Regions from separate parts of the Homo sapiens genome. Here region 1 is linked to region 2. The links are contacts of gene promoters, found by promoter capture Hi-C in human tissues and cell types (Jung and others, 2019). All regions are on one chromosome and are shown on one strand. The core of a region is centred on a gene start or on the middle of the fragment in contact, and the rest is flanking DNA. Distances in the headings are between cores, read along the strand shown. Region 1 holds the start of ONECUT3 (one cut homeobox 3). Region 2 holds the start of C19orf25 (chromosome 19 open reading frame 25).

The links. The method cuts DNA at HindIII sites, captures the fragments that hold promoters and counts their contacts. A contact is called where the count stands out against the background at its distance.
Region 1: a contact is called between the fragment with the promoter of ONECUT3 here and the fragment with the promoter of C19orf25 in region 2, in 11 of the 25 tissues and cell types used here (H1 embryonic stem cells, IMR-90 fibroblasts, bladder and 8 more).

What each region holds. Positions count from the first base shown.
Region 1 is chr19:1,749,643-1,755,303 of GRCh38, forward strand. ONECUT3 (one cut homeobox 3) reads left to right here and starts at 3,864. Exons shown (of 2, transcript NM_001080488.2): 1 at 3,864-5,212. The coding sequence starts at 4,021. The HindIII fragment of the contact is 24,245 bases long and covers 1-5,661 here.
Region 2 is chr19:1,475,124-1,480,941 of GRCh38, forward strand. C19orf25 (chromosome 19 open reading frame 25) reads right to left here and starts at 4,092. Exons shown (of 3, transcript NM_152482.3): 1 at 4,040-4,092; 2 at 3,651-3,782; 3 at 1-135. The coding sequence starts at 3,780. RefSeq lists enhancers at 3,277-3,777, 4,139-4,258 and a silencer at 3,869-3,918. The HindIII fragment of the contact is 27,509 bases long and covers 742-5,818 here.

The sequences.
Region 1 (5,661 bases), core at 2,614-5,113, 270 kb after region 2:
GGGCGGCGCGGCCCGAGAGCGATGAGGATTCGATGGAGCCGCTCGCCGCGGCGGGGGCAACGGAGCCCGGGCGGGCGCGGGGATCGATCGGGCACAGCTGTCGCCTAAGAGCCCGCGGGAGCATCCACCCGCGGGCCAGAGCTGCCCGGGCGCCCCGCAACTGCGGGCAGGAAATCCGGGACGTCGGGCCCGCCAGGGGCGAAACCCCAAAGTCGCGACACCCGGGGTGGGGAGGTCAGGACGTCCCCACGGCCAACGTGGAACCTTCGGGAGCCGCGCGCTCAGCCTCGCCGGGACCCCCGCCAGGCCGTAAAAGCCCAGAGTCTCCCCCCAAATCTAAATAAAATCCCCAGACCCCGCCCGAACGAAGGCGGCTGGAGTCCAGAGGGAGAACTCCTGCCACACACTAGGCACCGGCGGCCGGGATTTGGGGCGCCCGCAGGTTTCGGGGGCCGGGAGTGGGAGCAGAGCGGATCTAGGGCTGCGGCTGGGCTTGGGTGGGGCGCGCATTCATTGCCATCGTTTAGTAAAACCTCGCTTTAATAAAAGCAGGGAGGGGTGCGCAGAGCCCGGACACTTTCATTTCGGTGGGAGACAAATCGAATCAGAAAGTCAGTTGGGGGCGCACTGTGCAGGGTTCTGGGGGAGCCCCAGGAAAGGAAAACTTGAGGTATCTGACTCTGCCTTTGATATTTTTAGCTGCAATGGGAGAGTCAATAACAACAGGGAAGGTGGTGTGTCCAAAAATGGGGGAGGTGTGGAGGATTAAAGAGGGGGTTCAAGCTTAGGGGGTCCGTTTAGGGAGTTTGAAGCCGTGGAGAGTGCGCACCCCTGGGGCATGGGTGGAGGCCCCCAGTCCTCCCCTCCACCCGCGGGACTCTCCAAGCCCTGAGGTTGGCAGGACCAGAGGCTGCCCTTTTTGACTCCTCCCAGACGCAGGCCAGGCACAGAGAGGGTGAGCGTTGGTCTGGGGCAGCCCAGCACCTGCTGAGGTCCCCCTCCCCAACTCCCAGACACAGACTCGGGCTCTGGGAGTCAAACTTTCATCTTCCTGGAGGGGATACTGAGGCCAGAGAGCTTCCTCGAGGTGGCTGAGGTCCCTGTGGGGTGGGGAAGGGGGACTTCTTGTCCCGATCCAGCCCACCCCTCCCCCTGCCCACAATTTGCCTAATGACCCAGGATCGATCTGGGCCTGGGCAGCCAGCCTACCCGGTGGCCGGCTCAATTCTATTTTACTAATTACTAAAAGGCTGCTGCTGGTGGGGAGAAGCAAGCTGGGGGCTCCAGGGGGCCACAGTCCCTCTCTTGGGGCCAGCAAAATTCTGTTCAATCTCTCAACGGGACCACAGCCTCTACAAGGAGTGAGATCCCCATCCCTGGGGGAGTCCAAGTGTCCATCAGCCGAAGGGAGGGGTGAGGGGCTTCGCAGACCTGGATAGGGTTAGGTCCACCAGGCTGGGCTGCCCCTTCCAAGTCTAGGGAGCTTTGGAAGGGGTCTGTGGCCACCTTAGCGTGTCCTGAGGCAGCAGAGGGGAGAGGCCCTCTTCCTCTCGGAGTCCCTGACCCTCGTCTTCTCTTTCAAAATGGATGCTTTCCCTGCTAGAAAAGCCACACACGCTTGCTATTAAAATGAACACGATCATCAAGCTGTAAAAAATATATTTAAAAGGAAGCCTGCAAAATCCCAGCTCCCTAGGAGCTCCCCCACATTGGCATTTGGGGGAACTTCCTTCCACCTTGTTATCCTCCCACCCGTAGAGACCCCCAGCCCCCACCTGGTCTGCGCTTCTTGAGCCTGGGATGCTAGCGTTTTATGGCGGCTGATTGATTTTTAGATCTCACGATTATTTTTAATTATCTGTGATTGTTGGAGGGTGAGAATGAGGAGCGCAGGCTGGGGCTCTGTGCAGCCACATCCCCCCCGCCGAGATTCAGCATCTGCACGGGGAGTGGGGTACGCGACTGTTCGGACCTGCCCCTCTCTTCCCACCTGGAAGATGGGTGTAATTATGTAAACTCCAGAAATTATACCTGAACCCTGGAACTGGAAAGTTTAGGGACCGACACTTCAGGGGGCAGGAGTTAGCACTTGGGCAGATGTAGGAATGAAGGGGGGAACTCTAGGGCCACCACCCCCCCACCTTGGGCCAGAGACACCCGGAAAAATTGTGATTTGACTTCCCCCTCTCTGGGGCTGAGAGAGGAGAGTATGCCTGGTAAATAACAGGCACTTACTAAATGCCGAGCCCTAAGCAGCGAGTACTAACAGGGGTCCCCTTCAGCCCTATCCCTCCCCAGGACTTGGATCAGGCCACCTCAGGCTGGGGGCCCAGATCATTCAGGCCCCCTCTCTCTCTGGCTGTTGTGGTCAGCATAGACTCACCTCCGGCTCCCAGCTGGGCAGGCTGGAGGGCACCCCCTCCCACACCAGAGAAGGGGAAACTGAGGCACAGAAAGGGCCCTATTCCAGAGCCAACCTAGTCTTGGTTCAGAAAATCGCATCTCCAATGTGTAGCCACGTCTACAGGGGCCAGGAAATCTGGATGCAGGTGCAAAGCTGGGGCCGGGGTTTGCCCAGAAGGTTTGCACCAAAGGGGAAGTGACAGCCTGACTGTGTCCTCCCCTCTTCCTTCAGCTTTGAGCCCTGATGCAACCCTCTGAGATGGGGGTAACTGGGGGCTCCCGCGAACCGACTGCCTGACCCATCCCCTTCCTCTTCTAGAAAGTGCACAAGCGTTACCCCGGGGGTGGGGGGGGCAGAGGCAACGGGGAAGCAGGAAGGGGCTGAGGCTGGTTTTGGACTCTGCACCGTAGCCTCTGGCCTACAAGACAGAGCATCCTCTAGATTCTGGTCTGGCCCCTCCAGATCCGCAGCCCTGACCTTACCCCACTGGCGGGATCTAGTCCCCTGGGGGTCTCTCTGATTATAGGAGCCCTTCCCCCATCTATCCCAGTTCCCAGGGGCCCCTGGGGCTCACCTGTCTCCAGGTGCTGAGAAAAAGGAGACCCCTGCCTCCCCCCACATTGAAGAGAAGCCCCAGGGACAAAGAGGAGTTTGCACCAGCGACGTCTCAGAAGACAGGGGATCCAGCCTCAGCCTCCGTGGGCTGGAGGGTGACAGGGGCTCTTAGTGGTCACCCCCAGGCTCCAGTGCCTCCAGCGGCCGCACTGTAAAAAGGCCCTGCAATTAGAAGGGGCCTTTGGCAACCCCGAGGCCGGGCAGCCCATTGTACAGTTGGGGAAACGGAGGCCCAGGTGCCCACACATGGGCAGAGGCTGACCCCTGGGGCGCACGGAGGCCCTGACCTAGCCTTAGGACCTCCCTTTTCCCCCACTTCCTCCACAAAGAGGTTGTGGGAAGGGGGCTGTGACTCCGTAGGTGTGAGTGGGAGTCGGGGGAAGCTGAGCTTGCAGTGGGGATCTAGCTCCTGGGGGTCTGTAGGGAACGGGGGGGGGGGGGGACACGTACATTACAGGCGACCGTCCAGCCACACTCCCAGAAACTCCCTGGAGATGGACTTGGGGGTGCCAGGCAGAAAGCCACATCTGGGACTCTGGAGAGAATCACACAGAGACGCGAAATCGGAGACTCTGGGTCGAGGCCCCCAGCCCCACCTGGGCAGAGTCTGTCCTCGGACCCCCGCCCGCTGTCCCCCGGGTACGGCCTGCCCCAGCGGGCGCGGGCGGGCGCAGTGGCCAGGGACGCCGAAGCCCCAAGTCTGGCCGACTTCGGCCTGCTTGGTGCTCGAGTGGGGCCGGGGCGGGCGGAGAGCGAGGCTGCGGGAGGCAGCGGTGGCAGGAGCGGGTGGGCGGGGGCGCTGACGTCAGACCCGGGCCCGGGCGCCGGCGGCCGCTCCCCTGCCACATCCTGGTGGCCGCGCTCGCAGCCGGGCCGGGCCGTGCGCCGCGCAGCCTGGCAGCCTCGCGCGCAGCCACCGGGGAGCGGGCGGGAGTCATGCAGCGGCCTTGAGCACTAGGGGCCGGCGCTGAGGAGCGCGCGCGGCGGGAGGGCAGCCGAGCATGGAGCTGAGCCTGGAGAGCCTGGGGGGCCTGCACAGCGTGGCCCACGCGCAGGCGGGCGAGCTGCTGAGCCCGGGCCACGCGCGCTCGGCGGCGGCGCAGCACCGCGGCCTGGTGGCGCCCGGGCGCCCGGGCCTGGTGGCCGGCATGGCGAGCCTGCTGGACGGCGGCGGCGGCGGCGGCGGTGGGGGCGCCGGGGGCGCGGGCGGCGCGGGCAGCGCGGGCGGCGGCGCGGACTTCCGCGGGGAACTGGCGGGCCCGCTGCACCCGGCAATGGGCATGGCCTGCGAGGCGCCGGGCCTGGGCGGCACCTACACGACGCTCACGCCCCTGCAGCACCTGCCGCCGCTCGCGGCCGTGGCCGACAAGTTCCACCAGCACGCGGCGGCCGCGGCCGTGGCCGGGGCGCACGGCGGCCATCCCCACGCGCACCCGCACCCGGCGGCCGCGCCGCCCCCGCCACCCCCGCCGCAGCGTCTGGCGGCCAGCGTGAGCGGCAGCTTCACCCTCATGCGCGACGAGCGGGCGGCGCTCGCCTCCGTGGGCCACCTCTACGGACCCTACGGCAAGGAGCTGCCCGCCATGGGGTCGCCGCTGTCGCCGCTGCCCAACGCGCTGCCGCCCGCGCTGCACGGCGCCCCGCAGCCCCCGCCGCCGCCACCACCCCCGCCGCTGGCCGCCTACGGCCCGCCAGGCCACCTGGCTGGGGACAAGCTGCTGCCGCCCGCCGCCTTCGAGCCGCACGCCGCGCTGCTGGGACGCGCGGAGGACGCACTGGCCCGCGGGCTGCCCGGAGGCGGCGGCGGCACAGGCAGCGGCGGAGCGGGCAGCGGGAGCGCCGCGGGGCTGCTGGCGCCGCTGGGCGGGCTGGCGGCGGCCGGGGCGCACGGGCCGCACGGGGGAGGCGGCGGCCCCGGCGGGAGCGGCGGCGGCCCCAGCGCGGGCGCAGCGGCCGAGGAGATCAACACCAAGGAGGTGGCGCAGCGCATCACGGCGGAGCTGAAGCGCTACAGCATCCCGCAGGCAATCTTCGCGCAGCGGATCCTGTGTCGCTCTCAGGGCACGCTCTCCGACCTGCTGCGCAACCCCAAGCCGTGGAGCAAGCTCAAATCCGGCCGCGAGACCTTCCGCAGGATGTGGAAGTGGCTGCAGGAGCCAGAGTTCCAGCGCATGTCGGCGCTGCGCTTGGCAGGTAGGAGCGTGGCGCGCAGGGCCAGACCCTGGGGGCGCCGGCTCTGGACTCCCGAGCACCTAGCGGGGCGGCGGCCGATGCCCGGGGCCAGCGCCCCAAGCCCCGCCCGTGCGCCCCGGCAGCCCGGGACCCCCTATCAGGAAGCTAGACCGCGATCCGCGCCGCTGCCCGTTTGTACCGTTGCCAAAAGGGAGAAAGGGATTGTGCCGCCTCCCCGCCCCCCGGTCGCCGCTTCTGCCCCTTTCGGGAGCGCGTAGGGGTTCTCTAGTCCTTGTTAGACTGCTGGGAGGCTCCGAGCCTCTCCCCAAGCAGCCCTCAGGGAAGCTCATTGTGTGTGTGCGTGTGTGTGTGTGAGCGCGCGCCTGTTGGGGGGAGCTGTGTCCCCGAACGAGCTGCTGTTGTCGGCTAAGGTGCCACTCCCCTCCTCCAGAGTGGGTGGAGAGGGGCTG
Region 2 (5,818 bases), core at 2,842-5,341:
GCTCACACCTCTGCCTCAGCACGTTGCCCGCCTGCTGCAGCCGCTGGTTGGCAGCCACGTAGGCCCGGCTTTGCTGGTAGAGCTGCTCTCCCGGGGCCTCCGCATCCTCCATCATCCTGAAGGGAACTGGGGGGTCTGAGACAGGACACAGCAGCATCACTGCCTGCTGACCACCCCATCCTCCTGGGCACCCCTCACTACTGCCCCCAAAGGGCAGGGTTCCCTGCAGTCCCCGAGTGAGCTTGCCAGCCGGGGTCTTCTTAACATGACGGATGCAGCCAGGTGTGGTGGCTCACGCCTGTAATCCAGCACTTTGGGAGGCCGAGGCGGGAGGAACACTTGAGCCCAAGAGTTAGAGACCAGCCTGGACAACATAGTGACACCCCCATCTCTACCAAAAAATACAAATACAAAAATTAGCTGGGCGTGGTAGCACGCATCTGTGGTCCCTACTTCTCTGGAGGCAGAGGCAGGAGGATCGCTTGAGACTGGGAGGCCGAGGCTGCAATAAGCTATGATCGTGCCACGGTACTCCAGCCTGGGTGACAGAATGAGACCCTGTCTCAAAAATAAATAAAAACAAAAATCAAGTAATGGAGGCTTCCTCGTCCATCAGCTGGGAGAGGCACAGTGGCTGGGTGGCAGGAGGGGCTTCCAGCTCTAGGCTACCCGCCTTAGCAAAGCGTGTGACCAGGGGGATCGGGTCACAGAAAGAGCTCAAGCCTCGCCAGCAGTGGCCCTCCTGGGGGCGGGGCTTCCATTCCTGCAAAAGCCGTGGCACCCACCGGGATGGACTCCACTGAGCTGGCCTGGCTCTCATTCCTGCTGTCTCTGGAAGCCAGAGACGCAACAAGCCCGCCACCGAAAACCTCTCCAGGGGCCGTGCAACCTCCTGGAGCACACACTTAGGGAGGCAGGGGTGGCGAAGGTGAGAGGTGGGCATTGACGTCCTGGTGACTCCCACATTCAGCAGAAACTACGTATGGCTCCCTGCTCCCCCACGTATGCAAGCCCAGTGCAGCAGGGCTGAAGCAGCACCGACTTCAGGGTCACTCAGAGAAGCGTCAGGGGCCCCTCGGCTCTGGCCTGCCCCTCGGCAGTGTGGTCTCCCACGGACGAAGGCTCCACGTGCCGCACGGGTCTGGGCTGATCAAATCACCTCTGTCATCACCTGCTTTAGCAACAGGGTGGGAAAGGCCGGGCAGTGCCTGGATGAAGGCACAGGAGGCCCCCTACCTTCTGTGAGCGCCCCCCGTCCCCCGCACAGCGTGCCTCAGTTTCGCCACACTCAACGGCCATGGACCTGAGCCCATGAAGCTCAAACCACGGCCCCAGCACCCTCAGGTGACCGAACTGCATGCTGGGAATAAAACCAACTCATGCACCTTGACCAGTACCGGCCCACAGAACCTTCCAGATGATGCGCACACCTCCCACCGATGCTGGTCCACACCAGCCACCAGCCATGTGTGGCTCCTGGGCACTTGAAATATGTCTAAAGGGAAAACACAACTCAATTTTTCTCTTTTTTTCTTTTTCAGAGACAGGGTCTCACTCTGTCACTCAGGCTGGAGACTCCAACTCCTGGGCGCAAGCAACCCTCCTGCCTCAGCCTCCTGAGTAGCTAAGACCACAGGTGCATGCCACCACACCCAGCTAGTTTGTGTATTTTTGGTAGATATAGGTTTTGCTATGCTGCCAAGGCTGGTCTTGAACTCCTGGCCTCAAGTCATCCTCCTGCCTCAGCCTCCCAAAGTCCTGGGATTACAGGCATGAGCCACTGCACCTGGCCCCAGAATTTTCTAATATTACTTTTTAAAAATGTTCCCTTAGAAATTCACAGTTTCTATCATTCCACATGGCTCATTTTCTTTTTTCTTTTTTTTTTTTGTTTGAGATAGAGTCTTGCTCTGTCACCCAGGCTGGAGTACAGTGGCACGATCTCAGCTCACTGCAACCTCCGCCTCCTGGGTTCAAGCAATTCTCCTGCCTCAGCCTCCCAAGTAGCAGGGATTACAGGCATGCGCCACCATGCCCAGCTAATGTTTTTGTATTCTCAGTAGAGACGGGGTTTCACCATGTTGGCCAGGGTGGCCTTGAACTCCTGACCTCAAATGATCCGCCCACCTCAGCCACCCAAAGTGCTGGGATTACAGGTGTGAGCCACCGCACCTGGCCGATTCATCTTCATTTGTTTCCCGCCAGCCCCAGAACAGCCTGGGGCAGACATTCTTGTTTCTTTTGTTCACTTGTCCATTAGCAGTGCTCTAAGCGCAGAGCCCAGCACACAGGAAGTGCTCAAGAAAAGGATTGTTGAATGAATGAATGAGCCTCATCCAGAACACAAAATTCACCCAACTGCACTGCTGAATCCTTTGGTCTCTGACTAGCTTCCACCTCGTAAATCAGGAGTGGACAAGCTTTCCTGCCAAAGGCTGGAGTCTCTGCTCCCACTACTCAACTCTGCCCTTCTGGTGTGAGAGCAGCCACTAACCGTATGTGAATCATTTGGCTGTGTGCCGTAAACCTTTACTTACCAACACTGAAATCTGAATTTCATACCTCTTTCAGGTGTCAGAAATGTTCTTTTTCACCCACCCCCATTTAAAAATGTGAAGTCCATTCATAGCTCCCAGACCTTAAAAAAACAGCCAGGGGCAGGGTTTGGGGGGCCCTAGCTTACCACCTCTGTTTTACTTTATTTATTTCTATTTATTAATTATTATTATAATTATTGAAACAGAGTCTCACTGTGGTCCAGGCTGGAGTGCAGTTGCGTGATCTCAGCTCACTGCAACCTCCGACTCCCAGGTTCAAGTGATTCTCCTGCCTCAGTCTCCTGAGTGGCTGGGATTACAGGCCCATGCCACCACACCCGGCTAATTTTTGTATTTTTAGTAGAGACAAGGTTCCACCATGTTGGCCAGGCTGGTGTCCAACCTCTGACCTCAAGTGATCCACCCACCTCGGCCTCCCAAAGTGCTGGGATTATAGGCGTGAGCCACCGCACCGGCCACTTATTTATTTTTGAGACACAGTCTGGCTGTGTTGCCTAGGCTGTATCCTCCCACTTTAGCCTCCAAGAAGCTGGGGCTACAAGTGTCCACCACCACACCCAGTAATTTTTTTTTTTTTTTGAGACAGTCTCGCACTGTCACCTGGGCTGGAGTGCAGTGGTGCGATCTCGGCTCACTGCAAACTCTGCATCCCGGGTTCAAGCGATTCTCCTGCCTCAGCCTCCCGAGTAGCTGAGATTACAGGCGCCTGCCACTATGCCCAGCTAACTCTGTTTTGTTTTTGTTTTTGTTTTTGTTTTGTTTTTTCATTTTTAGCAGAGACGGGGTTTCACCATGTTGGCCAGGCTGGTCTCGAACTCCTGGGCTCAAGCGATCCTCCCGCCTCATCCTCCGAAAGTGCTGGGCTTACAGGCCTGAACCACAGCGCCCGGCCTCCACCCCTGTCAGAAGAACCCTCTGAAAATCGGTCCCACTCTACGGAGGAGTAGAGGGAGACTCGGAGAGGATACGGACCGTGCCCATGTTGCGGGGGTTCCCAGGGCGTGGGGTCAGGAGTTAGGGGTGTGCTTCTCTCCCGTCCCCTTGCTGCCGGGGTCTCAGGTCCGCTTTTCCCCGGGACCGGGCTCCCCCTACCTTCCGGGGCCAGGATGGTGAACACTGGATCCTCTGCCGGCGCACCCCGCACATCCTCCAGGATCTGCTCCACCGTGGGGGGCGCTGGGCGGGTGGGCAGCAGCACGCGCTTCTTTGCCTTGGAGCCCATCTCTGAAGGCGGGGAAGGGGGCGCTGACCGGGGCGTCCACCTCTCCGCCCTTGCCCGGGCTGCTCCTCCCGCCCAGCGAACTCGTACGCACCCGTCGCGGTCCCGCTCCCGGGGAAGCCCGCCCTGTCCCGCCCCTCTGAGCTCGCCCCAGGCCCTGACCCTCCCTCCGCCCAAAAACACGGTGGCCAAGGCTTCAGGGTCTGGCTCAACCTCTGCCTCAGTTTCCCCGCGGTCACCCCAGTCGCCGGCCTCTTCCCACCTGGGCGCGGGACCCGAAAGCCCAGCGTCGACGACGCAGCCACTTCCGATTCCGGTCGGAGCACCGCCCCGTCCCCGAACACGTGACACACACTTCCGGCCTCCTCTCCCGCCGGCCCGCCGCTCATCGCGGGGCTCCGCCCCGTCTTAAAGGGATAGTGCCCTTGAGACTCGGATCTCAGCCTCTCAGGCGAACCCGAACCTGGACGCGCTACGATGAGAGCGAGTTCGAGTCCAGGCTCCACTGGCTGGGTAGAAAAGCATCCGAGGCTCGTCTTTCTGAAAAGGGGAACACGGCACTAGGGGACACGCCACCCATGTGGCTGACGGGAGCACAAAATTGCTGTCCACCTAAGGGAGCCTGGTGGTGCATGAGCACTCGGCGGCCGGAACACAGCGGGGGCGGGGCGGTCGCGGCGCCTCCACTTCCGGCCAAGGCGGGTCCTCCCACCTCGGGGACGGTGCTGGAGGTCACCTTTTCCTCTCCGCTGATGCCTGGGAAGGCAGAAAGAGCAGAGGGCCCTTTTCCTCTCTCAGGGGCTTTATTGAGATGCAGTTTACATACCATAAAGTTCTCCTGTTTATTTCGTTTTGTTTTGTTTTTTTAGAGACAGAGTCTCACTGTGTCGCCCAGGCCGGAGTGCAGTGGCGTGATCTCAGCTCACTGCAACCTCCGCCTCCCGAGTTCAAGCAATTCTCCTGCCTCAGCCTCCCGAGTAGCTGGGACTACAGGCGCCCGCCACCACGTCCGTCAAAATTTTTTTTTGTATTTTAGTAGAGATGGGGCTTCACTGTGTTGCCCAGGCTGGTGTCAAACTCCTGAGCTCAGGCAATCCGCCCGCCTCAGCCTCCCAAAGTGCTGGGATTACGGGCGTGAGCCACCGCGCCCGGCCAAATTCGCCTGTTTAAACTGTAAATTCAGCCTGGGCGCGGTGGCTCATGCCTGTAATCCCAGCACTTTGGGAGGCCGAGGCGGGCAGATCACTTGAGGCCAGTTTGAGACCAGCCTGGCCAACATGGTGAGACCCCGTCTCTACTAAAAATACAAAAATTAGGCTGGGTGTGTTGGCTCACGCCTGTAATCCCAGCGCTTTGGGAGGCCGAGGTGGGTGGATCACGAGGTCAGGAGATCAAGACCATCCTGGCTAACATGGTGAAACCCTGTCTCTACTAAAAATACAAAAAGAAAAACAAAATTAACCAGGCATGGTGGCGGTTGCCTGTAGTCCCAGCTACTCAGGAGGCTGGGGCAGGAGAATGGCATGAACCCGAGAGGCAGAGCTTGCAGTGAGCCGAGATCGTGCCACTGCACTCCAGCCTGGGCGACAGAGCAAGACTCTGTCTCAAAAAAAAAAATATTGTTGAGAGAGAAGGAAGGAAGGAAGGGACAGAGAGAGGGAAAAGGAAAGAAAGAGAAAGAAAGGAAAGAAGGAAGGAGAAGAAAAAGGAAGGAAGGAGAGAGAGAAAGAAAAAAAAGAAAAAGGAAATAAAGAGAAGAAAGTAAAGAAGAAAAGGGAGAAAAGAAAGGAAAGGAAGGAAAGAGAAGGAAGAACGGAAGAAAGGAAGGCGAGAGAGAAAGAAAAAGAAAAGAAAGAGGAAGAAAGAAAAAGGAAAGAGAAAGAAGGAAAGAAAGAAAGAAAAGGAAAGGAAGGAAGGGGCCAGGTGCGGTGGCTCAAGCCTGTAATCCCAGCACTTTGGGAGGCCGAGGTGGGCGAATCACGAGGTCAGGAGATCGAGACCATCCTGGCCAACATGGTGAAACCCATCTCTACTAAAAAAG